3 separate regions of the Homo sapiens genome follow, and all the other regions are linked to region 1. The links are contacts of gene promoters, found by promoter capture Hi-C in blood cells and fetal thymus (Javierre and others, 2016). All regions are on one chromosome and are shown on one strand. Each heading gives the region's core, a stretch centred on a gene start or on the middle of the fragment in contact. The rest is flanking DNA. Distances are from core to core; before and after follow the strand shown.

Region 1 (2,707 bases), core at 2-2,501:
AAGTGAGCAATGTCTGGCATCACCCCCTGGTACCAGAGGGCATTTGGGGAGTCAGAAGGAAGACCTCATGTGCCAGGCCACAGAATGCACCTGCATACCCACAGGCATGGAGCCTGGGCCAGGCCCACCTAGGACAAAACACCTCTTTCGAGTTTTTTGCAGATGGTCCCCTGACATCCTTCACCACACTGGTCTGACTGCCAGGATCTCTTGGGCCTCCTGGGCCCCTCACGCCCTGGTAAGCAAAGGAGGAGGCAGGTGTGACCCCCCCACCCCCGCCGCCACTCCATCTGTGACTGGGAAGCTGATGACTCCAGGGTCAGAAATAACCCCACGGTCAGCTCCCTGCATGCCGCCCTTCCCCTCCCCTCCATTCCCAGAAAGCCTGGGCCCTGAGTCAGAGGGAAGAGTCGAGAAGAAAGGACTCAGATAATCTGGAATGAAAACCATAGAGTCCTGCTGTGGAATTCATTCATTGGGAGGCCGAGGCAGGTGGATTACCTGAGGTCAGGAGTTCGAGACCAGCCTGGCCAACATGGTGAAACCCCATCTCTACTAAAAATACAAAAATTAACTGGGTGTAGTGGTGCAAAGGAGGAGCTGGGCCTGGCCAATCTCGGCCCAGTGAAGAGCTGGGCCTGGTCATTCAGATGTCTTCCCCCCAAATCCAGCTTCATCGGGGCTGTGTTGACCTGTGCTGTGGGGCACAGGGTGGAATGGATAAGAAAGAAGGAACTCTTTAGTGCAGAAGGGAATGGGGAAGAAAGAGAGCTGAGCATCACACTCAGAGGTATCCAGGCTCAGAACAGAGGAGGAGGTGCCCAGCCTGCCCTCAGGAGACCTCCAGTCTCCTGGCACGGTGGGTGGAGACACGTCAGGAAGAGTCAGAGGCAGGGCCAGAGTAGAATGATGGGGGCTCACAAGACGGGAGCAAGCTGTCCAAGGTGTCAGATGCCTCTTCTTAGTCACTCTCTCAAAATAGTCTGGGACACCCCCAACCTCACAACCCAGCTGAGTCACTGACCCCAATCCCCAGATCAGACTTTGGATGAATGAAGCTTCTCCCCCTCTGTTTCCCCTCCCCAGCCCAAAGGACATGTAACTGATTCCCCAGGATGGAAGAGTGACTTCCACAAGACCTAAAAATAACCGAACCACTTAATACTCGGAACATAGCCTCTCCCACCCGCCCCCACCACGGCCCACCCACTAGCCAGCAAGATAAAGGCAGCTGCTGGGGCTGGCAGGGGACAGAGACCTGGAGCCAGGGCAGCAAGAAGGTGTCTGTTGGAGCCAGCAGAACAGAACCAATTTGAACAAGAACCTCCAGAGGAACGACGAACCCTGAGACCACAGCTGCTACAGACCACAAACACCCCATCAGCCAAGAGAGACCCTTGGTGAGTAACCTACCTCTCCATCCTTCCACAGCAAGGCTGGCTTTCACAGCTGGGATCCCCTCTCCTTCTGAAATGGACGTATTAGGAATGGCTCTGAGTAGGGGAAGGAGATTGAGGGGCATGCATGGGAGGAGGTGAGTGGAAGTCTCAGACATAAAGAACCCACAAAGGAGGTAAAGACAGTGTGAGCCCCATGGGAGCTCTCAGAGTGGCTGCCACAGGCCTGAAGCTAGCAGAAAGGATAGGCTCCTGCCAGGCTGGCATGATCCAGAAAGGCCTGGAGTTGTGATTTTTAAAATACAGGTATGGAGTGCCTCAGGCTTCAGGGCTTCCTCCCAGGGAAGCTTCAGGCAGGCCCAGGATCTGGAGGAAGGAGGAACAGGAGAGAGGTGGGGGCAGGGGGCTGTAAGTAGGCCTGAGTGTGCATTGCTAGAACAAGCCCCATGCCTAGTTGTTGTGGATGACACTCTTGGCATATCTGGCCCAGGGATAGCTCCCAGGGGCTGGCCGGAGCCCAGCTCCCTACATATCATAGCCTAAAACCTGGGGTGGAATTCGGACTCTGCCCATGTCCATAGTCTTGCCCAGTGGGAAAGCCCCCAGGGCAGATTTGGGGGGCTCACGGGAGGGAGACCAGATCTGAATTTGCCCAGATGTAAAGACATATGGAGCCAGCTGGGCCAAGGAGGAGGTGACCCGAGGACAGCAGGGGGACCATCCTGAGAGGCTGGCCCAGCCCTAGGAGACCAAGCTCTAGGACAGTTCTTGGGGCTCACCCCACGTAAGTCTGGTCCCAGTTATGAATTCTGTCCTGACTCTACACTTGTCCCAGCAGTCTCAAGCCAGGCAAAGATGGTGGTGGGAAGGCCAGGAGTCAGGAGACATGCTTCAGGCTTTGCTACTGCCTTGCTGAGCCTCCTTGGACAGCTCCTTTCCCCTCTTTGGGCCTCTGTTTCCCTATTTGAACAATAAGGGGTTTAGATTGAGTGACCTCTGAGGGTCCTTAGGCCTGACATCCCTGGACTCCATGATAATAACTGTCTGTGGCCTTAGCAGAGATTCTGGAAATTCCTGGGGGCGGGGGTGGGGTGAAGCTGATGGTGTGCACACACCATCTGCTCAGGCCACCCTGGTGGTGACAGGATGGAGTAGAGGTGGAGACAGGCTCAGGTTTGCCTTGGGCAGGGGATCCTCATTGGAGCTCAGAAATGAAAGAAAACCACCCAGAGCTTTGATGAGACTCAGGCTGCAGGTTTCAGAGCTCACATTCCCCAAAGGTTCTGATGTCTTTGGTGGACATGCCAGGG
Region 2 (3,044 bases), core at 442-2,941, 150 kb before region 1:
TCCCTGATTCAGCTACTACCTCATTCTTTCCCTGCCCCACCTACTCCCACCCAAATACCCAGTATCCTGACTTCTGCAGTGATCCTGTCCTTGCTTTTGTTTATAGTTCATCACCACATAAGCATGCATTTTTAAACATTATAGTTTAGTTGCCCACCTTTTAAACTTCATATAAATGAAATCATATAATATGTTTCTTTTTGTGTCTGGCTTCTTATGGTAAACATCTTATTTGTCAGATGCATTCATGATTTTTTGTGTAGGTGCAATTTTTTATTTTTTATTTTATTATTTCTTTATTCATTCAGCTCACTGCAGCCTCCACCTCCTAGGTTCAAGCAATCCTCCTACATCAGCCTCCTGAGTAGCTGGGATTGCAGGTGCATGCTCCACCATACCTGGCTAATTTTTGTATTTTTAGTAGAGATGGGGTTTTGCCATGTTGGCCAGGCTGGTCTCAAACTCCTGACCTCAAGTGATCTGACTGCCTTGGCCTCCCAAAGTGCTGGGATTACAGGTGTGAGCCACTGCAACCAGCCTATTTTTTATTTTCTAGAGACAGGGTGTCATTATATTGCCCAAGCTGGTCTCAAATTCCTGGCCTCAAGTTATCCTCCTGCTTTGGCCTCCCAAAGTGCTAGGATTATGGGCATAAGCCACCATTCCCAGGCCATAACTGTGATTTTTAAATAGCTATTTCTATCTATTGTTATTTCAGAAATTGTTATTTCTGATTGAAGTTAGCCTTCCTACTATTGATGTGATATTGATAGATATTATTTCCATTTTGGGGCTTACATTAGTTTTCTATGGATGCTGTAACAAAGTACCACATATCAGGTGACTTAGAACAATAGAAATGTATTGTTTCAAAGTTCTAGAGGCTAGAAGTCTGAAGTCAAGGTATTAGCAGGACCACATTCTCTCTGAAGCCTGTAGGGGAATCTTTCCTTGACTCTTCCTAGCTTCTGGTGGTTTGCTGGCAATGCTTGGTGTTCCTTGGCTGCCAGCTGCATAACTCAAATCTCTGCCATCCTTGTTACATGTATTCTGCCTGTGTGGCTTTACATCATCTTCCCTCTGTGTGTGCCTGTGTACACATTTTCACTTTTTATAAGGACACTAGTCATATTGGACTGGGGTCTACCCTAATGGCCTCATCTTAACTTGGTTAGATTTGCAAACATCCCATTTCCAAATAAGATCACATTCTGAAATACCAGGGAATAAGATTTCATCATATTTTCTTTTTTGGGGGGGTACAATTCAACCCATAAAAGAGCTGTTATGAATCATGTCCCTATAAGCATTCTTGGTGCACATATGCATGCATTTTTATTGGATTTATACCTAAGATTGGAATTGGTAGGTCATAGGACATGTGTATCTTCAAGTGTTGTAAATAATGCCAAACAGTTTTCTAAAGTGATTGGATCACTTAGTCTCACCAGCAGTGTATAAGTGTTCCCTTCTTCCATATCCTTTCCAACACTTAATATTGTTAGTTTTTAAGTTTTAGCCATTCTGATGGGTTTATAGTGATATTTTATCATGGCTTTAATGTGTATTTCCCTAGTTATTAGTGAAGTTGAGCATGTATTCTTTCACTTTTTGACCATTTAGACTTCCTCTTTCAAAAATTGTCTGCTGATATTCCCTGCCCATCCTTCTACTGATTATCTGTCTTTTTCATATTAGTATGTAGAAGGTCTTTATTTAGTTTAGACATGTATGCCTCCTGGGAATCAAGTCTCAATGAGTCTCTAATGTTTCTACCCATCTTCTGAGTGAAGGCATTGACAGCTTTTGTTCTGGACTAACTTTTCTTGGCTTTTTGTATAGCAAAATATCTTGTAAGATACTGTCCCTTTTTGGAGTGAGGATAGATTTCTCTGCTGTCAGGAAAATAATGTCTCCCTCCAGGACAAGTTTGCTAGCAGTTCCTTTAAAAGATTGGGTTTCCAAAGCATGAGGTTCCTCGATTGTAATGCATGCCCACTGCATGCACAGCATCCACCCAGGCCACCCTGCATCACCACTTAAAGACATGGGGTCAAACAGAACTATGTCTTAAAGCTCCTGCTTACTTGAGATCTAAACACCCTATATTTTACTTTTAATTTTTTGTTAGAATTTTATAACTTTCCTTACAAAAGTAATACATTTTTATTACTGACAATTCAGAAACTATGGATGAGCAAAAGGAATCTTCCTGTTTTGTTCATTTTGAGACTACAGAATGGCATAGAGAAAAATGTATCAAAACCTGCTGATTCAAATAAATTATTTTCAGAATGAACACCCAGGGTTAGGACAGACTTAACAAACCTATAAATTTTAATACTATCTAGAGAAAATCAGTAACTCTGAGACACTGCCAGATAATGTTCTCAAATGCCTTTGGGATCATCAAAGACAAGTTAAATAAAGTGAGATATTGATCTGGATTTCAGAATATATCAAATCCATTGAAAAGTCAGAGGTTCTCTATTGTATATGGCTATGCAACTGAACTAAAGACATCATTCTCCAGTTATTCTTGATAAGAAAGAGTTTACATATTACTATGGGAAAGGAAAGGGGCAATTGCTGGCAGATATATAGATAAGGATTACCCAGGAATAATTCCATCTGAGTGAAATGGCTCAGGGAAGAGGAAGTTTCCCCTTTGTTACCAAGAGGTGAATGTAATTTGCAGGTTGAGTGCTATAATCAAGAACAAATGACTCAACTATGAATCAATCCCTCCTGTTTTCTACACACACACACACACACAAACACACACACACACACTCACACTCTTCTCCCATTCCAAGGCCTGCTTATCTACTTTTGTCTGTGACAGGTTGGATATCCAAAGAAGCAGATTCTGAGATGGAGACTAGTGTGCAGGAAGTTTCTTTGAAAGTACTTTTGCAATCAACACCTGGGAAAGGAGGGGAAGGGAAGAAAGCAGGACTGAGCAGAGGGAGAGCTGCACTGTAGTCTCAACAGGAACTTCAGCTGACCCTATCCTTCAAAGCAATTCCAAGTTGCAATGAGGA
Region 3 (2,705 bases), core at 178-2,677, 200 kb before region 1:
GGATCACTTGAGATCAAGAGTTCAAGACAAGCCTGGCCAGCATGGTGAAACCCTGTCTCTACTAAAAATACAAAAAATTAGCCCAGCGTGTAGTCCCAGCTACTTGGAAGGCTGAGGTGGGAGAATTGCTTGAACCCAGGAGTGGAGGTTGCAGTCAGCTGAGATTGCACGATTGCACTCCAGCCTGGGCAACAGGGCGACACTTTGTTCTCCGCCCCCTAAAAAACCCCCAAAACAAACTAACCCCATTTCCTAGGCATAGTTTCAGTGCCATGCCTAGGTAGTGGAGAGCAAGCAGCTTTCAACCTGGGCTGCCTGGATTAGAGCCCATGTTCTTAACCACAAGACTAAATATCCCCCCAACTTGTGCTTCTTGTATAAAGTAATGGCTGTTTCCTGATTTTTTTTTTTCTGATATGGAGTCTCATTCTGTCATCCAGACTGGAGGGCAGTGGTGTGATCTGCAACCTGCATCTCCTGGGTTCAAGTGGTTCTCCTGCCTCAGCCTCCTGAGTAGCTAGAATTACAGGCGTGCCCCACGATGCCTGGCTAATTTTTGTATTTTTAGTAGAGATGGGGTTTTGCTGTTTTGGCCAGGCTGATCTTGAACTCCTGGCCTCAAGTAATCTGCCTGCCTCACCCTCCCAAAATGCTGGAATTACAGGCAGGAGCCACCTTGCCTGGCCATCTTTCCTGAATTTTCAAGAAAAGATTTGAGTGCACAATAAGAATAGCTATAAAAGAGATAATAACAAGTGTTGACAAGGATGTGGAGAAATTGGAACTCTCATATACTGTGGCTGAGAATGGAAAATGGTATAGTCACTTTGTTTTTTTGTTTTTTGAGACAGGGTCTCACTCTGTCACCCAGGCTGGAGTGCAGTGGCATGATTTCAGCTCACTTTAACCTCTGCCTCCTCGGTTCAAGTGATTCTCGTGCCTCAGCCTCCCAAGTAGCTGGGATTACAGGCACATGCCACCACGCCCAGCTAATGTTTGTATTTTTAGTAGAGACGGGGTTTCACCATGTTGGCCAGGCTGCTCTTGAACTCCTGACCTCATGTGATCCACCCGCTTCGGTCTCCCAAAGTGCTGGGGTTACAGGCTTGAGCCACCGCACCCGGCCTACAGACTGCATTTATATGAAGTATCCAGAAAAGGCAAATTTATGAAGACAGAAAGCCTATCAGTGGTGGCCTGGGGCTGAGAATGAGGATTAATTACAAAAGGCATGAGAGATCTGTTTGGGGAATAAAAATGTTCTTAAACTGATTTATAGTGATGGTTGCATCATTCAGTAAAGCTGCTTTTTTGAACAGAAATTAGGTTTTAGGGACCTACATAGGTCAATAACCAGCCACCCTAGAACTATTTTATTTTAGAAAAGGGTTTGGTCCATTTTTATAAGGCACAGGTAAAGAAAACAGAAGTGTGACAACATCTTTTAGGTTTTCCAAACAGCTTTCAATGATAAAGTTCAATAAATAAAGTACAGCACTTTAATTGCAGGGAAAAAAAAATGCCAGAATTTAGAGGTAAAACAGTACAGGGGCCAAGACCAAAAAATTTTATTTGGAACATTCAGAGGCTAGAAAGCCACTGTCCCGTTCTCCAGAGCCTCTGAGAAGTTAACTGAGAACCAATTAAAGAAGGGCATCTGTTCCTCCTCATCCTACCATCACCTCAGTCAGTCTGTGACCTGGTGACAGTGACTCCTCTCCTCACATCCAGTCTTCCCTGGTTGGAGCTCCTCAGGCCCGGCAGGCAGCTTACAGCTTCTCTGGCTTTGTGATTGCTTGCCCAAGAACATACCCAAGGAGACCCTGTGGTGTAGGGGTGGGGCTGAAGCGCAGCCACCTGACAGAGCTCTCCTGGGAAAATGCCTTTCCAAGTAGCCTCTCAGAGTATGCAAAGCTCTCTCCTAACACCCTAGTGTGCTCTATGAATTGATGACTCCTCTTTTGGAGATTCTGAAGGCTGAAATCAGGTCCATATATTTTCTCCTTAAGGGGATTACTGAAGGCAAAGGCAACACAATTTCTGCCTGGTTTTCCAGGTAGGACTTCATCTTACTGCAGAATAGTAAGAAGCAGCAGCCCTTGGCAGAAACCAAGCAGGGCAACAGATTTCACCCGTTCCCAGTCCTCTCTTGGTCAGGACTTCAGGCCCATCTTGGCCATCATCTCTTCATACACCGTCCACGCCATTGCTGCCATTAGAGTTCTGCGGAGGGCTCGGGGGATGCCACCTTGGAAGAAGCCACGTAGTCCATAGTCCTATGGTGAAAATAAATGTCAGAACTCTGGAAGCAAAGTAGCAATACAATTAATTATCCACTTGGTACCACAGTGAGGGTCTCTGTTATCCCATGTTTAAGACTTAGTTTCTAAACTTTATGCCCAAAGTAAGAATAATGGGTCCAAGGAGACAACCAAAGAACTTAAAAAAAATTTTTTTTTTTTCCGAGGCAGAGTCTGGCTCTGTCGCCCAGGCTATAGTGCAGTGGCGCGATCTCGGCTCACTGCAACCTCTGCCTCCTGGGTTCAAGCGATTCTCCTGCCTCAGCCTTCCGAGTAGGTGGGACTACAGGCGCCCACCACCACGCCCGGCTAATTTTCGTATTTTTAGTTGAGATGGGGTTTTCACCATATTGGCCAGGCTGGTCTCGAACTCCTGACCTTGTGATCTGCCCACCTCAACCTCCC

Evidence for each region. Contacts are between HindIII fragments. The CHiCAGO score rates a contact against its expected background, and 5 or more counts as called.
Region 2: a contact is called between a fragment that was not itself captured here and the fragment with the promoter of XIRP1 in region 1, in 1 of 17 cell types (fetal thymus). The highest score is 6.3, in fetal thymus.
Region 3: a contact is called between a fragment that was not itself captured here and the fragment with the promoter of XIRP1 in region 1, in 2 of 17 cell types (fetal thymus and activated CD4 T cells). The highest score is 6.1, in fetal thymus.

The regions. Positions count from the first base shown.
Region 1 is chr3:39,191,139-39,193,845 of GRCh38, reverse strand. It overlaps XIRP1 (xin actin binding repeat containing 1), which reads left to right and starts at 1,251. Exons shown (of 2, transcript NM_194293.4): 1 at 1,251-1,400. RefSeq lists an enhancer at 1,491-2,480. The HindIII fragment of the contact is 686 bases long and covers 1,061-1,746 here.
Region 2 is chr3:39,343,222-39,346,265 of GRCh38, reverse strand. No RefSeq gene overlaps it. Among named protein-coding and RNA genes, the nearest start is that of CCR8, 15 kb to the right of the region's middle. The HindIII fragment of the contact is 3,394 bases long and covers 1-3,044 here.
Region 3 is chr3:39,395,969-39,398,673 of GRCh38, reverse strand. It overlaps SLC25A38 (solute carrier family 25 member 38), which reads right to left. Exons shown (of 7, transcript NM_017875.4): 7 at 1,323-2,276. The coding sequence ends at 2,154. Among named protein-coding and RNA genes, the nearest start is that of RPSA, 9.4 kb to the left of the region's middle. The HindIII fragment of the contact is 4,026 bases long and covers 1-2,705 here.